Linked DNA regions of Homo sapiens: regions 1, 2, 3 and 5 are each linked to region 4. Evidence: promoter capture Hi-C in human tissues and cell types (Jung and others, 2019). All regions are on one chromosome and are shown on one strand. Each heading gives the region's core, a stretch centred on a gene start or on the middle of the fragment in contact. The rest is flanking DNA. Distances are from core to core; before and after follow the strand shown. Region 1 overlaps NKAIN2 (sodium/potassium transporting ATPase interacting 2). Region 2 overlaps NKAIN2 (sodium/potassium transporting ATPase interacting 2). Region 3 overlaps NKAIN2 (sodium/potassium transporting ATPase interacting 2). Region 4 holds the start of NKAIN2 (sodium/potassium transporting ATPase interacting 2). Region 5 overlaps TRDN (triadin).

Evidence for each region. Contacts are between HindIII fragments. The study calls those that stand out against the background at their distance.
Region 1: a contact is called between a fragment that was not itself captured here and the fragment with the promoter of NKAIN2 in region 4, in 1 of the 25 tissues and cell types used here (hippocampus).
Region 2: a contact is called between a fragment that was not itself captured here and the fragment with the promoter of NKAIN2 in region 4, in 1 of the 25 tissues and cell types used here (mesenchymal stem cells).
Region 3: a contact is called between a fragment that was not itself captured here and the fragment with the promoter of NKAIN2 in region 4, in 3 of the 25 tissues and cell types used here (dorsolateral prefrontal cortex, hippocampus and lymphoblastoid cells).
Region 5: a contact is called between a fragment that was not itself captured here and the fragment with the promoter of NKAIN2 in region 4, in 1 of the 25 tissues and cell types used here (dorsolateral prefrontal cortex).

The regions. Positions count from the first base shown.
Region 1 is chr6:124,079,579-124,082,278 of GRCh38, reverse strand. All of the region lies in intron 1 of NKAIN2 (sodium/potassium transporting ATPase interacting 2), which reads right to left. Among named protein-coding and RNA genes, the nearest start is that of NKAIN2, 280 kb to the right of the region's middle. The HindIII fragment of the contact is 5,382 bases long and covers 1-2,700 here.
Region 2 is chr6:124,309,853-124,312,742 of GRCh38, reverse strand. The region is part of intron 2 of NKAIN2 (sodium/potassium transporting ATPase interacting 2); the gene reads right to left. Among named protein-coding and RNA genes, the nearest start is that of NKAIN2, 510 kb to the right of the region's middle. The HindIII fragment of the contact is 5,652 bases long and covers 1-2,890 here.
Region 3 is chr6:124,059,558-124,062,449 of GRCh38, reverse strand. The region is part of intron 1 of NKAIN2 (sodium/potassium transporting ATPase interacting 2); the gene reads right to left. Among named protein-coding and RNA genes, the nearest start is that of NKAIN2, 260 kb to the right of the region's middle. The HindIII fragment of the contact is 5,490 bases long and covers 1-2,892 here.
Region 4 is chr6:123,802,477-123,805,176 of GRCh38, reverse strand. It overlaps NKAIN2 (sodium/potassium transporting ATPase interacting 2), which reads right to left and starts at 1,312. Exons shown (of 7, transcript NM_001040214.3): 1 at 923-1,312. The coding sequence starts at 976. RefSeq lists an enhancer at 2,507-2,556. The HindIII fragment of the contact is 12,261 bases long and covers 1-2,700 here.
Region 5 is chr6:123,390,969-123,393,668 of GRCh38, reverse strand. It overlaps TRDN (triadin), which reads left to right. Exons shown (of 41, transcript NM_006073.4): 13 at 1-45. Among named protein-coding and RNA genes, the nearest start is that of TRDN-AS1, 47 kb to the left of the region's middle. The HindIII fragment of the contact is 3,038 bases long and covers 1-2,700 here.

The DNA of each region.
Region 1 (2,700 bases), core at 157-2,656, 280 kb before region 4:
AACTCATATAACACTTTGATTTTCATTGATGTTTAGCATAAGAATACAGTGGAAAGACTACTAACATCAGATGCAGTCCTTGCCAATAATTTATAGTCCAAAACTCAGCTCAGGTCTCCCTTCCCTTCCTGTTGCCCACCACCATGCTATGGTTTCCATCATGCCACCCATGCGCCAAGTTTCTAGGCTTGGGTTATTTACCTGTTTCTTTCAGTTCCTAAAATACCCTTCCCATCACATTATTCACTATCTGTATTGGCTTTATTTCTCTCTCTACCTTAAGGGCAGGGGTGGATTGAATTTACTCCTTTGTTCTATTGAATACCTGCAATCTTAATAAAGCTCAGCAAGACACTGAAGAGGATAGACTTTTAATTTAATGATTGTTGCTAAGAATATTTAACATAATATGTAATTGTATGTGATCCAACTCACAAACTTAATACTTTTGGCCTCTTTTTCTCCATCTTGTAATAAGACATGTTTTAACTGGATTGCCTAAAGTAAATTCTGGCACTAATAAGTCTATGGTGTATTGCAAATTGGCCTTGAAAAGTCAGAATTTTGATTCCCAATATTTTCAATAAGCACTATAGTATATTTTAATATTTACTCTATTTCATGACTCTGCTAGAAAATTCAACTAAACTTTAATATCCTTTACTGAAAGTAATAAGCAAGTGTTTTTCTCCTCTTAACATTCTTTTGCAAAATGTATCTGGTAGAGAAAACAGCATTTATGAGTAATTACCAAGCATTATACATAAGAACTTTATTTAGACATTCTAAAGATAATACCATTCAATTCTAGTAAAGAGGAGAAACAGAATATGTTATGTAAAAATGAATGCAAATTTTATGTAAAACCTAAGTGAATGAAACATAAAAATTCTGGTAAACTAGTAATATAACCTTATTTCAAAATGTCTTATTTGATTTCAACAATCACACACAAATAAAATTGGTCTCATTACTAAACAGAAATACCATGTTTTATATTTTCTGCAGTTTGACAAACATTAATAGATTGATTTGAAATTTATGCATATGAATAACTAAAATTAGGATTAACTAAAATAAGAACTAAAACTCCTCAGTCATCAAGAATTCCTGTGGCAGACAAAAATCTTTAAAAGTTCCAAGTAAAAACTGCATAGAGGAAAGTCAATATGCAATATAAATCTTTTAATATAGGATTAAACGACTCTTTTTTAAGACTAGGAACTTTATTTTTATGTTATCTATACCTTCATATGCCAATGAATAAATAAATGTTTGAAACTAACTGCCCTGAAATCAATTTTTATTACTATGGTGGGATTTATACCTATGCAGGCGAGTTAGTTTATCATCAATAATTTAGTCTACAAGGACTCCTGATTTCTCTGAAGTTTCTGGTAATATGACATGGTATTAGATAAAGTGTTAGAAATTTGTAACACCAGGATGTTTGTTTCAAACATATTTTTCCCATTTATAGAAATACAGGAAAGAAGGAAGAGGATATAAAAGGCCTTCTATAAAGATCTTGGAGGGGGGGAGTGTTTTTGCTAGTAGTCGTGTGTGTTTGTGTGCAGAGCTAGATTCAATCAGGGAGGGCCATAAAGTTAAAGTGCTAATTATCCTCAGTTTATTTTCTTCCTTTTCCTTTTCCTTTTAATTGGGAAATGTAGTTGGTACAATGTTTTTTGGTCTAATATAAACTCAAGGGATTATTACAAACAACATTAGCAACAGTCTATATGTATATTATATATAAAATGGAAAATTGATAAAAAATATTTAAGACACACAAGCAAGAATTAGTAAAATGAAACTGTGAGACCTGTGACATTCAAATCTTTAAAAATATCTCTGACAATCAAAATGATTTAAGTAAGAAAACAATGAAAACTGTAACTCACGTATATTGAGACTGATAGATCCAGAAGAAACTGCAAGAGGCTAACTCAATTCTAACATTCTAGCTTCTAGGAACAAGACAGCCTTTTGTCTAAGATCTTGAATAACTGAGCAAATACCTCTGGCAAATTGTACTGTATCTTCCCCTTACAGAAGTAGAGTCCCAAGGAGAGATGGGAAAATATATTAGCCTAGGTAAACTCAGACAAGACGCCCAGTGTAGGAAACCACCCTGGAAGCCTGATTCTCAGGGCTGCTGAGCGAGACCTGTTGTCCCAGCTTTTTTATCAGTCAGACTCCCATGGGCGTTAATCTATATTTCACACATCCTTAATCTTTTGATGCCCAAGCTTCCTTTCCCATCTAGGTCTACAATCTACTTCCTCCCACCCACCATTTCTCTCTGAGGACAAAGTTTTTTCCCTTTTTTTTTTTTCCATCCAAATGCCACCCCCCAACCCCACCCTTTCTTTCCTTTCTGCCCACTACCTTTAACTTTACCTTTGTTCGCTCAGTGACACAAGAAAGGCAGGTTTCCTGTGTTTCGGGAGACTGTCACTATAAGGTAAATTATGCTTTTGCTAATACTCCCTAGTGCTACAGGCTTAGCAAAATAAATGGCATGCCCAGAACAAGAAGTTTTAAACTGACACAGCCTGTGATCTGTTTACATGCCAACTTAGTGGAATTCCTAAGCAGAAAGAGGAAAAAAGGAGGATAGCTAAAAGTCGGTAAAGCATATCTTGCTTCAGCTAAATGAAATACTAGAATACTGTTAATTTCTTCAATTGATCACCT
Region 2 (2,890 bases), core at 254-2,753, 510 kb before region 4:
TGTCCAATCACATTTATGCATAATTGTTCATTGCTTCAATCGTAACTAGCCAATGAAGTCTCCATAAAAGACCGAAGAGGACACGGTATGAAGAGCCTCTAGGCAGCTGAACTCATGAAGATTCCCAGAGAGCAGCACACTCAGCGAGGGCACCGAAGCTCTGTGCTCCTTCCCCCACACCCTGCCTTTTGCATCTCTTCATCTGTATTCTTTGTAATATTCTTTTTATAATAAACTGGTAAATGTAAGTATTTCCCTGAACTGTCCTAGCAGGTTAATCTAACCCAAAGAGGGGTTATGAGAACCCAACTGAAAGCAGGTCTGTCAGAAGTTCCAGAGGCCTGGACATGCAACTGGTGTCTGAAGGGGGTGCAGTTTTCTGGGACTGAGTCTCAACCTGTGGGATCTGACGCTATCTCCAGGTAGAGTGTCAGAACTGAATTGGAAGACAGCTAGCTGGTGTCTGCAGCAGAATAGACTTCTTGCTTGCTGGTGGGGAGAAATCTCTGCACATTAAGTCACAGAAGTCTTCAATGCTGATTGTTGTGGTGTAAAGTTTGTGTTTTTTTCACTCACACTGACACAGAAGGAAGGATGACCATAGCATAGCATTGAGTTAAAAAGAGAAAGCGATGCTAAATACTCCCATGTATGCAAATAAAAAGTGTGTGATTTTATGTTTGCATAGGTTTTCTCTATTTATATACCTCTTTCTCTCTCCCCAAAGTTTACAACTGGAGGTTGACAGGGGTTAGAATTAGAGGTTAACAGTGGTCAATCCTGTTAACCACTACTTACTAGTAGTTATTGGGAGTAAAGGAGAGTACATTTTTGCTTTATCTGTGTTGCTTGCATTTTTATACCACATACGTTTAACCTTTGAAAGCTAAAAAATACATATTTTTTATAAACAGGAAAACAAAGTGAAAGGAATAGATTCATCAGACAGGCAATGGTCTCTTTTCTGCAACCAGGTCTCTTAAGACACTAGTGAACATGTTGTGACTTTATAATCACTAACGATACCAATTAAGAATGGGCTCTACTGAGCATGTGAATGCAAATTCAATAAGCAAACGTGCCTCTCACGTTATTAACTCCATCCTGGTCATGTTCCTCCCTATTTGCGTTTTGCTTCCTGCTTACATTTGTTTTCACATAAGTAAACGTAGTAGATGTAATCTTTAGAAACTGACTTATTTGAAATTTCCTATTTTTAAAACGTGAAAAGCAAATCTATGATTTTTCCATGGTGGCAGTGGATATATAAATATTTTCAGGGTGGCCCAGAAGCATATCCACACAATGGAAGCATGTGAGCGCATGGCCACAGGGTGGTTTGTACAAGTGGGGAAACTTTGCTGGGTCCATAATCCTATTAAATGCGGAGAGTTTGTGGCATTTTCCTCCTTGTGTATTTTCAAATGGGATATAGTAGTCTTATCTGTTTATAATTGCTAATATTTTATCTTGTCCAAAATTAGGGCTTCTCAGTATTGTCCAACTCTGCAGACTTGCTCTGAAGACCCTGCTCTGGACTGAGGATGGGGGTCACAGTGGAAGTGTGGGCCTTTGTCCCCTCTTTCTGCTTTCACTGAGTATCTTCACTGTTCTTTGCTCTACATATTAAAATCTCTCCTAATAAGTTGATGAAAAGGGAAATCAGGTGTTCAAACTTTGAAAATTGTGGCTTTAGACCCAGAATTTTACTTACGGAAGGAAATTTGAAAGTCTTCAAACAACTTTAGTTAGGAATGAACAAAATTAGTTTTGTTTCTTTATTAATGAGTGATTTTGTTCACAGATTTTTAGTTGCAAACACTGTGAAACCAACACCGGGACCAAAGCTTTTAACTCTCAGATCAGTGTGCTTCCACCTTACCACGCTGCCTTCCTTTTGCTGCTAATCTCATTGTTAGTATCACTTCTAGCTTTCAGGGCCTGGGATTCTGAACATATCTGGTCAAACTAATTGTGAGAGGAATTCGCTGGCAATCTAAGAATCAAGATCATAATTATTCACTAACATCACCTCTGACTTCAGTGGAGATTCGGGTCATATTTGGCAGAACAGCTACTTTCGGCTTTCAGTTAATTTCTGAATGAATCTACTTATCCTGTAAGAAGTGCATGGTATGTTTCAAATTCATTGTAGGTTCCTAACGTCCTCCAAGGGACAGTAATATTTTTTAGTTCATCCTAACAAATCACAACCCAGGGAGGTACATTTAGTTTTTCTGTGAGCTGTAGATACATAAAAAAAGAAAAAAAAATCTGTAGCCCACATTCTGTTTGTTAAAACATGTAATGCATTTCAAATATTAACTTTCTAACTATGATTTCAGAAAGATCATTAAAGTCTTTGTCTTAAGGAATGAAAATCTCTTATTACTAATGATGTGTCAGCAATACCATTCTATGCAGGCATGGCAATACAAGGCACTTATAATGCAGCTGCACAAATAATAAAAATAAAATTACAAAAAAAAATCTACATAAATGAAAGTACTAACATAACTATATATATCATCTTCTATTCCCATGTTAACAATACTAAAACAGCTATGTGCTTTTCAATGCATTTTTCTTCATTTTTCTTCGTGGTTTGATCTCATTTTAGTATTTCATCAGTTGTGTGCTTTTATGATAAACATTTCGGGACATCTATTCCCACCAAGCTCCATTTATCTGAAAGAACTTAGTTTCTGTGAAACACAGGTATTTCAAGTCTGACCTATGTATGGAAATAAGCTGAACTAAGTAATTTTACCTCTTTTACTATTGTTTGAGGTCTTAAGTCCCAAGAGTGAGAATGAAGGTGAGAAGACTGGCAAAAGGTAAAGGTGAAGGAGAGAGAAGGGAAAGAAGAAAAAAAGAGCAAGAAAGTTAG
Region 3 (2,892 bases), core at 84-2,583, 260 kb before region 4:
CTCAAAATAACAACAACAATAACAACAACAAAAACTGAAATCAGCTATTCCTGGAACTCTATTCTAGGGAAATATAAAATATTTTTGAGACATAAGCAAATGCGCAGACATGAAGCTACTCATTGTCACAATATTTATAATATCAACAAAATGTCCTATACTGGGGGTTTATATAACAATAAATGGTATTTCCATCATTAAGAAGGTATGCTAAAACATTATGTTCTTAATCTTAAACACTATATTAAATATACAAAACAATGTAGGCCATAAACTTAATTGAAAAAAATAGGTTAGCAAATTTCACGTTTATACTTAAGTTTTTATTTATATTTACGTATCATTGTAATGAACAAGCCTACTTGAGCAACAGATTGAAAGAAACGGTTTTAAAAGTATAACATTGGTTTTATTTGGTTGGTAGAAAAATGTTCCCATTGCTAAAGATATCTCAGTTTCTGCACCACGTTTGTGTTAAAACACACATTCTTTTTCTTTGTTATTTTCTCCATTCTCTTATCTCTAGCTCTACTTTGCTCATCTTAAGAATGATAAATCAATGAAGAACATTTTTTAAAGGGCAAGGATTAATTACAGATATCATTTCTAAGTTTTCTTACGTGAAAAAGTATTTTTTAAAAGCTCTGGAGATTACTATTTTTGATGTGTATTTGTGGACTCACTTCTGAGATTTTCATACTAGATCTCTTCTTTGGTATGGCTTATTGTCAAAGGTTGCTAAGCAGTATGAGTACTCTAAAAACAGACAGTGCTTAGGGGTAGTGCATCCCCCAATGTTTAAATCACCTTTAAAAATTGTTAAAACATGACAGGATCAAAAGGGTAGAGAGGGAAGGAATATTTGAACAGTTCTGCATTTACTCTCTTTGAATACCAAGACTTCTTGCCTTTTCATAAGACACTCATAGTGTAAGAAAGTTTCCATCATTTAAATTACATCTCAAATGGAATCCCCCTACAGAATCACATGCATTGTCTAATTTTTGATAAAAATATAGAGAAAGAGAAAAATTGAAGACTTTTTGAGAAAGTTTTGAAAAGATACCTTGCTTCCCACCTTTCCCATAAAATAGCTGTAAGGGTTAATAAAAAAGATTATATAATAACATTGTAAACTGTTTAGGAGTCAATCATTAAAAACACCTTTGAGAATGTCATTATTACTGAGAATATTTTCCCCAACTCCAGCACATATATGGTGGTGTACTCCTATTTATCTTCAAGATGCATGTGTTATTCAGACTTGCTTTTACAATATCCAAAACATGCTGCAATTTGTGAGCAATCTTAGCCAATCAGAGAAATAAATATTTAAAGCAATTTCCTAAATACTGTATTATTTACTGTCTCTCAGAGATTGGAGCCCTTTGATCAAATCACATGAACACTTATTTTCAACATGTTATACATGCTGAAAGCTTTCTCCTAAACTGCATGTACTTAAAATAAAAAGCCATATTATCATTAATCATTATAGCAATGCTCTTTTTTTATCCATCATTTTTTCTCGTATTGTAGTATTTTTCCATTGCTGGATGACATTTTATTTTTAGTGGCTGAATATTTTTATGCCAAAGCATTTGACAATATCACAGAAAGAACATTGTGTTGCATATTTTCCAATTTTTCTATTGTTTTATATTTTTTAAAGCTGTACCTTAAAGTTTTATAATTAAACACTGACGATGAAATTTAAGTTGTACCTAGTCTGCTAAACTTTACTAGATGAGTAAGCAAACAAGGAAAAAGTTATCCTTTCATGCAATAAATATTCTCTACTATTCAAGGCAATGGATTTATAGCAAATATGTTAAACATGGCAGACATAACTTACATTTTGGCGAACGGTGTTCCAGTTCTGTTTCTGGAAACTGTGAAGTTAAGCTGAACTTCTAAATGTGTACAAAATGGAACACAGGCTTTCTGCTTGTATCTGCTAAGGCTGGATGAGACTTCACTGCCCCAACCTGTGCTTTTTTATGCTTCTCCTCTCTTTTCTATGCAGCTTCAATCCTAGCTGGGTGGAGGACGTGGTATATACAAGAAACTTTTCCTCTTTTCTCAGGCTCTGCAATCAATTGTTAACAACTGCATAGAGGCTAATTTGATTCAGGCTGGTTTACACGTGCTCTGAGAGTGCAAATCAAGCACCTACGAAAATGCCAATAAAATACACCTGTGACTGGCATAGGCCCTAGGCATAACAGGATCAAGGTGTCTCTGAAAGCCAAATGTGATTGTGATTGTCTCTTCTGATGCTTGGTCCATTAGCCCACACAGCAGTGGAGTTAACCATACTCCTCATTCAGGGATATTTCTCGAGAGCACATCCTTGCCTGCTCTGATGTTGTACTAAGTACAAAGAAATACAGTTTAAAAGATATGGCCTCTGCCCACAAGTAGTTCATACTCGAACTTTGGAAACACTCATAGACAAAAAAATTGAAAACAATGCAGCATAAGCTACAAGGAAACTATTTGTTTCACAAGGTACTCTGCTTCTCCATTATATGAAGAATATAAAATAATGAACACCATGACAGAAAAGGGCTGCTTAGCTCTAGACACAAATAAGCAAAGATAATAGGAGCAAAATGTGAAAATGGGAGGAAAAAAACAAAGAGATGTCACATTCTGTACCCAGAGAGTCCATTTAGAGCAGAGATCAAGACTAAAATTTGTATGAATGCTGAACTGCCAACCTAGAGCCAAAGACCAAATGGAAGCTCAGGATGTGAAGAGCAGTGGATGGAACCTCTGAAGCACTCGACACAAAAGGAGTGGCAATAATACAACAGAGTCAGGCGGATGCATTCACATGTGCTGAATATCCACTCTGTGCCAGGAACTGTAGTAGGCACTATGCACACA
Region 4 (2,700 bases), core at 63-2,562:
GAGCAAGTAGCTCCTACCTCAAATTAACCACTTAGAGTGGTGTATTTTTCACCTCTCAACTCTCTACTCAGACCCTCCTTCCATTGCCCTTAGGGAATTGAAATTCAGAGACATGACGTTTTCCATTATTGGTTCCTTGCCCCTTTGCAACTGTACAACATTCCTCAAAAAGTACATAGAATTCTCCATCCTATAGGATCAGACAACAGTATCTATTTCAGGAGCAATAATATGCATAATGTAAGACAGAATAGTTTTTCTTGGAATTGTCTGTGTTAATTGTGATTTAAAGGTTACTGGTTCCGTCTATGACAATGGTGTTGCTGAGTTCACCTAAGTATTTTTGTTCAATCTGCATACTTTAAAAACTCAATGTGGCTAAAACTCAAACAGTCTAAATTAGACTGTTGTAAGGATACCATGTGCCCTAAACAGTGGTTTTTTTAGAGCATTATACTTAAAGACAACATTTTCCTTAAAAAAAGAAAAAAAACATGTCTATGAAGAAACAAAGATACTGCAAAATTAGTATAGAGAAGAAAAGTCCAAAATTCCGTATTCCTCTGTTTAACAACCTGTACGGTAAATTGTAGGTGACAATCACGTTGTTACATGAATAGGAATGCAAAGCATAAAGAACAAGAGCTACATCTTGCTTTTCCTAAAGAAATTAAAGACAAGTTTAACCCGCACCTGCCAAACTGTCTTAAAAGGGACAGAAATAGGTGGGAACGGAAAGGCTCACCTCTCCTGTACCCCAGAGTGCGTCTCCCTGAAATCATCTTCAATATAGGCAATATATCTGTCACCTTCTCTTTTATCTTTTTCGTCCATTCTAGTCAATGGCAGACCCTTTGCTGCACTCCCCTGCCCACTATCTCAAAGACACATTACAGAATAAGGGGACCCAAGTGTCACTTACCAGTTGCATGCCACAGATAAAGATAAGCGTGCACCTGCCACTGCAATAACCCATGGTTTCCGAGACCCCTGCCACAGCCAGACTGTCCCACGTCGGCCACCGTCGAGCCCCCACTTTATCCAATCAGATCGCGGGGAAGGACACGCAAACCTGCCGAGGGCTCGGGGGCTCCGGGCTGCTGCTGCTGCCAGCGTCCTGGGAAGTGACAGGCATTAGGACCTGCTGGCGCGGCGGCGGCGGCGGCGGCAGCTCCAGCCGCGCCCGCCACACATACCTTCACTCGCTCGGTGCACACGCCGCGCCGCGGGCAGTGCCGCCTGCGGAGGCGCGCTCGGGGCCCGCAGGGGCAGCAGCGGCAGCCTGGCAGCGCCGCCGCGCCCTCGGGCATCTGGCCCGCGAAGTTTCGCCCCTGCCGCTCTCCGCGCCGCTCGCCTCACGCCCCCCAGCGCGGCCGCCGCCCGACGCGCGCTCGCCCTGCGCTCGCCGCGCGCCGGCTCCGGGGGCGGCAGAAGCGCGCGAGGGCCGCTGCCCGCCTCCCTGCGCAGCCCGCGGCTCCTAGGCACCCTGCGTTGCTGGGCCCGGCGGGCGGGGGTGGGGCGGGGAGCGGGGCGCGGGCCGAGCGGGGGCGTCCCGGCTCCGCGGTCCCCGGCGGCTGCTGCAGCGGCTGCTGCGCGCAATGATGCGGGTCCGCGCCGCGTCCCAGCAGCGGCGCTGCCCCTCCCTTCGCCCAGATGTGTGAATCCTCCTCCTACAACAAATCCTTCATCCTGCTCCCTGCCGCCCCCTCCCAGGGGGCCAACTTTGAGGACCGCAGGGGCTGCCGCCCAGGCGGCCGCAGGCGGCGGTGTCTAGGCGGAAAGGAGCGGCGCGAAAGCGGCGGCGGCGGGGACCGGGGCCTCGGGGCGAGGAGTCTGGGCGGCATGACCGCGGTTTGCTGAGCTGAAGTCGGTCGTGCTCCCAGAGCCACTCCGCGGGAGCGAACCGAGTGTGTGTGTGCGCGCGCGCTCGGGGGAGAAGGGACCAAGAGGAGGGTTAGGGAAGGAAGCTGGGGTCATGGAACAGGGGTGCAACCGAGGCATCCAGAGCGGCCGGAAAGCCCGAGTGGCGGAGAGGCCAGAGGTGGCGAGAAGGGGCGCGGCGGCACCGGACGCACCGCCCAGCACCTGGCTCCCCTGGGCTCCCGAGGATCTGAAGGGTCGGAGCGCGGAGAGCTACGGAGCCGACCCTGCTTGGGGAAGGGGACCGAGTTGCTGCTGGAGTTGGGAAAAATTAGCAACCGGAGGGAATAGGGATGCAATGAGTTGCTGTTGCTGCTTCAAACTGTTGTTTGTTTTCACTTAAAATACTAAAGAGTCGGAGACTAGTTTAATACTCAGTTACTTCAGCTTCACAGCAGTCCCAGCTGGGTGTGGATTCCTAGTGGAGATGCACCAGCCTCCGCTGAGCACCGGCCTGAAAGCTGTGAAGCGGCTGCTACCTGCAGAGACAGGCTTCGGAGCCCGCTGCTGCCACCTGCGGGCGGAAAGCTGAAGGGCGCAACATGCTGGCCCAAGTGGCTGCCCCTGGGGCGTGGATATTTAGGACCAAGTTTCCTTTTTAGCCCTGGCAGCTAAGGAAAGCAATCCTAACTTTTCCAGGAAGTGAAGATTATTTGTTGAGATCCACTGAGGAACTGACTCATTGGGGTGAAGTGTCGCGATTGATAAGAGGATGGTTTAGGGAGCTAAATAGCAAACAGCTCCCTAGCACCCTTCTTAAGAGATTAAGATGACGAAGCC
Region 5 (2,700 bases), core at 1-2,500, 410 kb after region 4:
AAGCTTCTGAAACCAAACAAGGGACTGTAAAAATTGCAGCACAAGGTAAGCAATAAAACACTTTAAAAAGCATTGCCTTTTTTTAAACATCTATAGCACTTTATTGACAAAAGCAAAAGCTGTTTATTGCAGAATAGCACCATCTGCTGGGATATTGCAAAAAAAATATTGTTGAATGAAAATACACAGTTCAAGTATTTATTTAGTAATTGGAGCAAGCATGACTGAGAGTAATGCCAAATTTGCAGAGGAACTGCTGAAGGACCCAAGAACTAGTCTTGGCTCCAAGTTTCAGTATTTGAGCTTTATGTATATTTTTAAAAATAATCCATTGATGTGCATAAAGAAATACAAATACAGATATAAAATAATGTACACTTTTCTATAATTTTCAGTATACCTTGTAATTTATGTTACATGAGAAGATCAGAATGTTATTAAAGCAATATTACTTCATAAACATCAAAACTGTAAAAATGGGGTTCCAGATATGGCTACAAAATAATTATCCTATTTTTATGAGCCATCTAAGAAAATTAATTTCACCATTTACAAATATCTTCAGGATAACTAAAGTGGTTTCGTCTCACACCATGAGGATTAATTTGATGAAAGCATGAGGGAAGGGTTCAAGTGTTCTGCCTTTGTTATGTGGCAAAACTTTATGGAACACACTTAGAAAATAAAAGATACAATGTTTACTGGAGAAGATCTTTATCATCTCTTCTATGCTAGATTATATAATATCAAGCAATAAAGGAGATGCACATAGGTGGTGGTACAATTTTCAGGGGTAGAAGGCTCTCATAGCAGACTTCTTAGCACATCACATGATGTATGACCGAATGTATTACATCTGAGCAAAATTTTTCTCTTGTATTTAATCTTGGACCCAGCAACATGCAGAATCACCCCCGAAAATATTGGTAACATGGGTTTGTTAAATGCCATTTGACTCGAGGATGTTGTCTGTGAGCAAAATAAGCTAGAATGATTAAAAGCTATGATACCAGTTTTTAGTTTTCACATTGAAAAACTTGTTTTTCTTTAGGAAAGTTCTGATAGGGAATATAGTAAATATTATGAACGATAGAAAGGCAGGACAAATATTATTACCTTTGGTTTTTTAATACATGAAAATGCAGGTCAGGGTGAGTTCCTCAAGCCAATGACTACCAGTTTAAGAAATCATTGCTATTAGTGTATATATGTTTTCATAGAAAACCACAATCACCTTAGGCTCATTCTGTTTGACTGAGACTTCTGAGGACCATAGTGTAGATGTGGAACTACGACTTGAGGCAAGAATTTTGTGTTAGTTACTTCAGCCTCATGTTAGAGGCATTCATGAGGAGGAAAATGAAGAGATATCTGAAAATTTGATTCATATTTGAGCTTGAGGCCATGGGCTCTTTAAACTACATTTAACCATTCAAGATTTAAACTACATTGGACAAGTCAACCTTAGAGCTTATCATTTTGGAATAAAATATTTATTTTTGAGGAAATAGTAACCAAGAGTTTCAAAGTCTTGTTAGAATTATCCTTGGAAGGAAATTGGATGAAAAGATTGATGAAGCACAGTGAACAAGGCAAGAGTGAGGTATTCTGTGTATGCGTTTACTAAAATAAAAATGACACACCAATGCAGGGACACATCAAAGCAGAACTGCATATCATTCGCGTCTTTGCAAATCCTCCATAGATCTTTCTTAGATATGTTTATTTTAATGCCATAGGCATATAATTAAATTATGCATATAAATAATTAATATTTGCAAGTACTTCACGTGGAGACAAAACTTAAAATTGGCAATAATCCTATAGTAGACTGATTTTTTGAAGTATAAAGTGACAAAATTGATCATGATCTTTGTGGCATGGTAAAAGGCTAGATTAGATCTGTTCATTTATTTATTTTTAACTTTTACAACAAAGGACATATTAAAAATCTGGCTTTCCATACATATGTATGTATATATGTTCATATTTATTTATAACTATTATTAAGATTTAGCATATATTCTTTGGAATTTTAAAATAATTTAAGGAAATTATTTTAACAAAGTTTTGAGACACTGAGGAGGCAACAAAATAAATATCTCACTACTACAGGAAATTCCAATTTGGAGATCTAAGAAATTTAGGTAGATATAAGGAATGGCTTTTGTTTCTATTAAGACATGAGACAATAACCTCAACTAGGATGGTGGCAATGACATAAGAAAAAAAGCACAAATGTCATTAACATTTTGAAGAACTAATATCTGATAGAGTATATCAAAAGAAACAAAGGAAAGAATAAAAATGATACTGAGCTTTGGAAACTGGGTAATTAGGAGATGGTAATTGTTAAAAATATTAAGTTTCAGGGGAAGAAACTAGCTGAAGGGAAAAAACTAGCTGAAGGGAAAAGATGATTCATTCTTCAGTGGATGAATGTTGAGCAAAAGTAAAATAATTGGACAATAATTTTTTTGGAGCCAATTAGAATTTAGATGGGGGATCAATCTAGTTCACAGGTATTACATAAAAAATTGTTGGAAGAAATTGATATAGACCCAAATTGGAAAGGAAGGAGAGAGATGGGGAATTATTTTTTTAATCAGTTAGGTGCAATGATGAGGTAGACACCTAGTGATATTAAAATGCCAAAGAGAGAACACATGCCGTAATGGAACTCGGCTTAAAAGATGGGGT